2 separate regions of the Homo sapiens genome follow, and region 2 is linked to region 1. Evidence: promoter capture Hi-C in 16 types of primary human blood cells and fetal thymus (Javierre and others, 2016). All regions are on one chromosome and are shown on one strand. Each heading gives the region's core, a stretch centred on a gene start or on the middle of the fragment in contact. The rest is flanking DNA. Distances are from core to core; before and after follow the strand shown.

The links. The method cuts DNA at HindIII sites, captures the fragments that hold promoters and counts their contacts. A CHiCAGO score of 5 or more calls a contact.
Region 2: a contact is called between a fragment that was not itself captured here and the fragment with the promoter of TMSB4Y in region 1, in 1 of 17 cell types (activated CD4 T cells). The highest score is 5.3, in activated CD4 T cells.

Annotation. Positions count from the first base shown.
Region 1 is chrY:13,701,994-13,705,606 of GRCh38, reverse strand. It overlaps TMSB4Y (thymosin beta 4 Y-linked), which reads right to left and starts at 1,708. Exons shown (of 2, transcript NM_004202.3): 1 at 1,172-1,708; 2 at 1-382. The coding sequence starts at 1,271. The coding sequence ends at 348. The HindIII fragment of the contact is 16,122 bases long and covers 1-3,613 here.
Region 2 is chrY:13,434,898-13,438,701 of GRCh38, reverse strand. All of the region lies in intron 4 of UTY (ubiquitously transcribed tetratricopeptide repeat containing, Y-linked), which reads left to right. Among named protein-coding and RNA genes, the nearest start is that of MIR12120, 42 kb to the left of the region's middle. The HindIII fragment of the contact is 2,567 bases long and covers 686-3,252 here.

The sequences.
Region 1 (3,613 bases), core at 459-2,958:
TTAAAATCTTTCAAACAACAACAAAAATGGCACGCTGATTAAACTTCATTTTAGATTCTGCAGGACACTTGGCCCAACTTGGTTTTACTCTAGATTTCACTGCCCTCCCACTCCGCTAAGTCTTTCACCAACATTCAAGCTATTTTCCTTCCCTGCCAGCCAGACAGGCGATGGGAGAAGCAGGCGTGGCCTCCATTGTCAGCAGGTCTTTGATGTCAAAAGGGCAGCATAGTCCTTTCAAACTCATCCAACGTGTTTGCATCTAACCAAGTTAAACAAGTAAAAGAAGTAAAATAAGAAAGCAATGCTTGTAGAATGTACAGTAGATATTGGTGGCACATGCCTGTTTAAGATTCGCCTGCTTGCCTCTCCTGTTCGATAGCTGCGACCAGAAAAAAACAGAAAAGGAAAAAGATGGAGTGGGATGATTAAGGGGTTTCAGTACAGCCTAATATGGATGGGATGATTAAGGGGTTTCAGTACAGCCTAATATGGAATTAAGGGGCTTTCATTTGCAACATCTTGTCATATCCTAAACGTTCTGCAAGTGTACCTAGCTAGGCATGTCATAATCAAATAAAAAATGTATATTGAGTATATTAAATAGCCGTACATTTTCAGTGATAAATGTGTTTGTATATTATTATAGCGCATTAAATATTGCATTATTAAATTAATGAACCCTGTGTTCATGCAACCTTCCCCCTTAAGGATCGCCCTATTGTTTTGTTTGTTTTTGTTTTGGTTGAGATGAAGTCTCCCTCTGTCACCCATACTAGAGTGCAGTGGCAGGATCTGGGCTCACTGCAACTTCCCCTCCCAGGTTCAAGCAATGCTTCTGCCTCAGCCTCCCAAGTAACTGGGATTACAGGCGCCCTCCAGCAAACCAAGTTAATTTTGTATTTTTTGTAGAGACGAGGTTTCCTCAGGCTGGTTTCGAACTCCTGACCTCAGGTGATCCCCGCCTTGGTCTTCCGAAGTGTTGGGATTACTGCACTAAAAGTTATCTGATTTTTAATTAACCTTTGCAAGCCACATTCACCAACTATCTGCTCCTTGAGCGCCCTCCCCTGCCTCCCGAATTCTTCCCGTGGCAGCTCCCAGTCTCCCGCCCTCCCACCGCCCGCTCGCATTCCAGCCTTTCTAAAGATGGGGGAGGATCGGAGCTTACTTTCTTTGGAAGACAATGGATTCTTCTCTTGCGTTTCTGTCTTCTTCAGTTTCGACTTATCGAATTTCTCGATCTCAGCCATACCAGGTTTGTCAGACATGGCTGCGGAGGAAGCCGTAGGGAGCAATCCAAAGTGAGCGTGAGAAACAGCCACCTGTCCGGGTCTCTGTACTGGGAACTGTGCTTCTGCCCTCCGACCCGCAACCTGAGAAAGCCCTTCTCGCCCTCCGTCCCCTGCTGTTTCGCGCTCATGAGCTTCCTCTTTCCACAGAAAAAGAGGCGACACCTTTCCTCAAATATTTGAAAACGCAGGGGACCAAAGAGGACAGATCCCTCTCAAAGTGGAATGTTCCGGAATAAAGGAATTTGACCCCTGTGAACTGTTAATTACAGCGTTTAAAATTAAAGGCTGGCTTGGAAGAGAATAGGAAAGCCACTTCCGCGTTCAAGTGGTTAAAATCGGGCAAGAATTCCTAAAATGGAGCCCAGGTCGCAAAAGCACTTCCATTTTGTAGCCACGGCCTCTCTGCAAACAACGCAGGCCTGGTCCTGCGCCCGCTTTCTAGTCTTCTCACGTAGGCGGAGGCTGCAGCTGGAGCTTGCGACAACCGCCCTACCAGCTTCCTCGCCCGCGCCACACTGCAGCCCAGCACACAAAGCGCGGCCCGGAAGCTAGTCCTGCCGGCGCTCTCGGCATTTCGGCATCCCTAGCACACATGCCTCTGCAAGAAGGGCTGTGAAAATGTCACAGCGCAGCGCCGCCGCTGCCAGGCTGCACAGATGCAGCCCGCAGAGCCGTCTGAGGCTGGGAGACGGCTCGGGGCTCGGGAGATGAGTGAGCCTCAGAACAAAGGATCTGTCTGTTCCCACATCTCAGCCTCCAAGACAACGCACAATACCTTTGAGAGCAAACACTAAGAAATTTTTTTTTTTTTTTTTTTTTTTTTTTTTTTTTTTTTTTTTTTTTTTTTTTTTTTTTGAGACGGAGACTCGCTCTGTCGCCCAGGCTGGAGTGCAGTGGCGGGATTTCGGCTCACTGCAAGCTCCGCCTCCCGGGTTCACGCCATTCTCCTGCCTCAGCCTCCCAAGTAGCTGGGACTACAGGCGCCCGCCACTACGCCCGGCTAATTTTTTGTATTTTTAGTAGAGACGGGGTTTCACCGTTTTAGCCGGGATGGTCTTCATCTCCTGACCTCGTGATCCGCCCGCCTCGGCACACTAAGAAATTTTAACACGAACCCTCCGAGCGGCAGTACATAAACGCCGGTTTATTTGCTTTGTTCTTAAATCATCGATTTCCCCACCGCATTACCCAGCATCTAGGGTGTTTCGCATCCCCACCTCCCCAAGGCAGCTTTCCCGGGGATAATCACTCGGCTTGGCTTTAGGGGATGTCTTCACAGGGACGCGAATAATGAAGGGGCAAGCGCGGCATGAAGGGGAGGGTAGAAGGAGTAAGGATGCAGGGGCCCTGGGGCTTACCTAAGCCAGGCGCGTAAGGGAGTGAAATCTAGTCTACACAGTGTCCACCGCGGAGTTGCCAGGACGGGATGGGCAGGCGCTACTTTATAGCCCTCCTATGTAAATGAGTTGATGTCACCCACAGGCCCGCTTAAGTCTTTCGCTCCACGTCTCGGAAGGGCGTCTGAAAGCTGCCGGGCGGTTGGGGAGCCCCAACGCCACCCTAGGTGCACCATTGCCCCCTAACCACAACGATGGCGAAAGATAAAATGAGCAAAGCACCTTCCAACACTTCCTTCAAAACGCATTTTCCCCTTTTACAACAGGAGCGTAAAAATTGCTCTTGCGGACTGGTGCATATTATTTAAGGGTCGGAGTAATACCTAGGGTAACAGGCATTGTTTTACTGAGAAACTGGCTTTACCTACTGAGGACATACGCACGCAAAGGCGCGGTGTCCCTCCCTGGAGTGCCTGGTCAGCTACAGGGATATCATTCCTGTGACTCAGCTTTCAGACCAGTGGAGGCCTATGCGCCCCACCCCGGACCTCTTCCTCACTGGCGTTCCTCTTGCCTTTGGCAGAAGGTAAAGCAACCCTCAGTGATTTTAAAAGAGAAACTTTCAGCCTTGTAACATCCATATTGTTTCATTAGCATAATTTTTGTAGGCACTCAACAGTAATATTGAGTGTAGGGTAATATTGTACTCTACACTCTGGGTGTAGAGTAATTTGTCTGGAGTTTATAGCTCCCTCTTAGCAAAATAAGTCAATTTGAAGCTCTGCCATTGACTTACTGCCTGACAATGAGGAAATTCTTTTCCTTCTTGTTTTTTATATTCATAAATTGTCAGAGTGATTGCTAAGAAGGACTGTGTTGAATTCCAAAGACTATAGTCCCATTACCTCTAACATCATAAGATAAAATTCAAAAATCAAACTATATTTTTAAGGGAGTGCTTCCAGCACTAGGACATCTCCG
Region 2 (3,804 bases), core at 720-3,219, 270 kb after region 1:
AGTCTTTCCTGCTTGAAAACACTTTATCTACTACATCCTTACAACAATGTGATGGGAATTCTTTTGATTCTTCTGTAGGCAGCAAGGTAGCTGGATTTAGGGTATTCCCTATTTCTACAGTTATATTAGGATTTTCAAGTAACAGTCTTTGATATTTAGCAATTCTTGGATAGACAACCAGTGATTCCCCCTCTGGTCTAACAGGGTTATTACGGTGTGTGGCACCTGAAAGTTAACTTCTGTCCTAGTGTTAATTTGCCAGCCTCCTGGGCCAGCAAGGTAGTTGCCGTTAACTGCTTTAAAGCAGTGTGTCCAGCCTAATGCCACTGTGTCTAGTTGTTTAGATAAATAGGCCACAGGTCTATGCCATGATCCTAGCATTTGTGTTAAAATTCCTACTACTGTCCCTGTTCTTTCATCCACGTAGAAGAAGAAAGGTTTAGTCTGATCTGGGAGCCTATGTTAAGGCCTTTTTGATTTTTTTTAATGCTTTTGCTTGATCCGTCTCCCAGAAGAGGGACTCTTTCTTAACCCCCTTTGTAGCTTTATATAGAGCCTCAGCTAAAAGTGAGAAACTTGGGATCCAAATGCGGCAGAACCCTGCTGCACCTAAGAATTCTGATTTGGCGCCCTGTGGTACCTGTAGGGAGTGTACACATGGCCTCTTTCCGCTCACTACCAAGCTTCTTTTGTCCTTTGCTTATTATAAAACCTAAATATTTAACTTTAGGACAACAGATGCAAACCTTTTTTTTTTTTTTCTGAAATTTTATATCCAGCATTCATTAAGACACTGAGGAGTTCCTCCATGCCTCTTTGGCAATCCTTCTAATTTTTGGAGCTTTTTTTTTGATGTCACTTTGTGACTGGCTAACGAAGGCAGTATTTACCATTTTCTGGTTATCAGCTGCCTGTGGGTCAGATGTAGAGCCAGTAGGTTTCACACAGCTGCTCTTAGAACTGGCTGGGACTCTGATCGGGCTTTTGGAGGACTTCTGAAACTTTTCCTATGTTCATTGCTTTTCTTCCCTCTGACTTTACCCCATTTAGGAGTGCATCCACATACCTCTGTAGGCATTCTAAATGATCAGGGTTGTTTGGGACCCAATTTGGATCAGTGTCAGGGAACTGAGCTTCCGCATACTGCCTGGAATCATTTATGCATTCAGGGGCATTGTTTTCTAGCCATTGGAGGGCTGCTTGCACCACTCTGTGCCTTCCTTCTGTGCTAAATAAACTACTAATAATTGCTGATAGTCTGGCCAGGTAGGACTATGAGTCGAAAAGATTATTCTCGTATCAATTATTGCTTGTGGCTTTTCTGTGTATGATGGGTTATGATGTTTCCAGTTTAAAAGGTCAGTAGTGGAGAAGGGGAGATAAGAGTAAGTTTGTTCTCCACCTTGTACCCTTGATCATCAAGGTAGATTTGTGCCCACGTCTCTCTGAGCGGCATTTGCAGAGCTCGGGAACCACTGGACCTAAGACGCCCTGCCCTGCCTCTTCATCCTGTTTTTCCCTCCTAGTCTTAGGTGGCAAGGATGCAGCTTCTTCCTGCTGTGGAGATGCCCCGCTACTTTCTGAGCTTGTTTCTTCAGGAGACAATTGCCCTTCCTCTTATCTGAGCCTTGCTAAGGATGGGTAGAGAAGGGCATATGGAGAAGGATTCTCTAGCTTCTCCAAAGGAGCCTGTAAGATGTGTGTGTGTGTGTGTGTGTGTGTGTGTGTGTGTGTCTCTTTTGCTTCCTAGTTTCCTTCTCTAAAGGCTTGCATGATACTGTCTTTTTGATCCCTTTTGGACCAGTTCGGGCGACTAGGGTCTTACAATATTCAGCCATGCAGATTCCTAGCCATTTAGGGCAATTTTGGATTATATTTAACCAGGAATCAATATATGGAAATTGATCTGGGTGTCCATGCTGATCTGTTGCCCCTGTTATTATTTGAAACACCCTGCTGGTGATTTTCCAAACAAGGGTGCCCTCTGGCGGCCAACCAATGCCCAAACTAGGCTATTCTATTACACAAAGAGTTCTTAACCTTTGGCGGGGGTCAGCTTTACTCCATATTCCCCAGAAAATCCCTCCTTGAAATTCTTTAGCATGCACTCCAAAGGAGTGGGGGTTAATTCCTTAGGTTCTTTTCCTCCCATTTCTTCCCGCACGACGCAATGACCCTCACTTTCATTTCGGACCGATTAGACTGTCTCCCTCGTGGGGGTGTTTCAGACGCCAGACCCCGCTTGACTTTGGAGAGTTTGTTACTCTCTGCCACAATACCTAGACTGTGGGGCCACCTCCCTCAGCTGTATGCGGTAGCCCCAAAGGAAGTTCGCCTCTAGTCGTCCTGGGTCCAACATTTCACTCACAGCATACAGTCCACTCTAACAGACTTGCGGCCCCCACGCTTCACAGCTGATGAGCCTAGTTAGGCTCCCACATTCACACACATTCGTACACAACTCCTGTCCCCAGGACTCCTCATCAGATGAAACGAGTCTGTCTCGTGTCCTGGGTGGGTTCACACGTACCCACACACTCCCAGTTGGGACAGTTCACTCACACTGGTGACTTCACGGTTTCACTTTCTCTTTGCTCCCTCCGGCTCAGCAGGCTCTACCCTGCTGCCGGCTTCAGGGCTGAATGTCACATGAGTGGTGAGGTCCTTTCCTCACCGCCCCCATTCACCTTCTGGGTTAGGCTAATAGACAACCCTTGAGTGGTGATCAGTGCCCCACCCGCCTGGTAGGGCACGATTTGTGTCTGTCCCTGTAAGGCACCCTTTCTTACTCTGTAGGGCCCTCTTTTCTTACCGTGATTCCTTTTCACTGCGCTGAAAGTTGTCTTGCGGTCTCCTTCCTGCGCTATCAGGGGCAGGGCCTTGGGATGTGGGAGAACCCAGCCCTTTTTTGGAAAACTCTTCGGTCGGCGCGCCTAAGAACTGGGTCTCCCCCGACCCCGGGGCCCAAGTCCCACAGTCAAAGGAGACAGTAGCTTGTCCTCTCTCTCCTCTTGTCGAACTCTCCAAAATGTCGCAGTAAAACTCAGCCAAAGAAGACAAAGAGACCTTTGGAGACCAAAAACAACTTTAATTGAGGCACCTGAGCCAGTAGGCTCACGCCCAAAATGGCTGCCGACCCTGACAAAGAATGCAGGCTTGCTTACATGTTGTTTGAGGCGGGAAAACAAGGCAGGATACCGGTTTCAGACAAAGACAGTAAATTATTTAACCTGTGACAATTCTGAGAAAGCTTACAATTTAGTTATCTTGACCAGTCAGGCTCGAAGCTGGACAGAGCTGGGGTAAGGGAAAACAGGAACGACAGGAATGTGCGGGGGGTCTGGAGGCAGGCAATAAGCTTGGAAGGTTGAGATAAGCTCGCAGCTGCAACCTGTTAGCAATGCTGGGAGGGGCTGCTTAAATTTCTTAGCCTATGTATAACTTCTAAATAACCACACTTAATGTTAACTATTATCTATGTTATGTTTATTATTTTCAACTTTATTATTATTTATTTTATTTTATTTTCCTTCCACAGATTCAGGTCCATGCTGTTTTATATGTAGTTGTATAGTTTCCAGCATTTCTCTTGTATTGATTTCTAGTTGTATTCCAGTATGGTCTGAGATGTTATTTCATATAGTTTCATTGTTTAAATATGTATTAGAACTTCTTTGTATCCTGATATGTGGTCTGTCTTGGAGAATGTTCCATGTGCAGATGAAAAGAATGTATGTTCTACAGTTGTTGGATAGAATGTTCTGTAATTTTTTATGTTCATTTGGCCTGAAGTCCAGTTTAAGT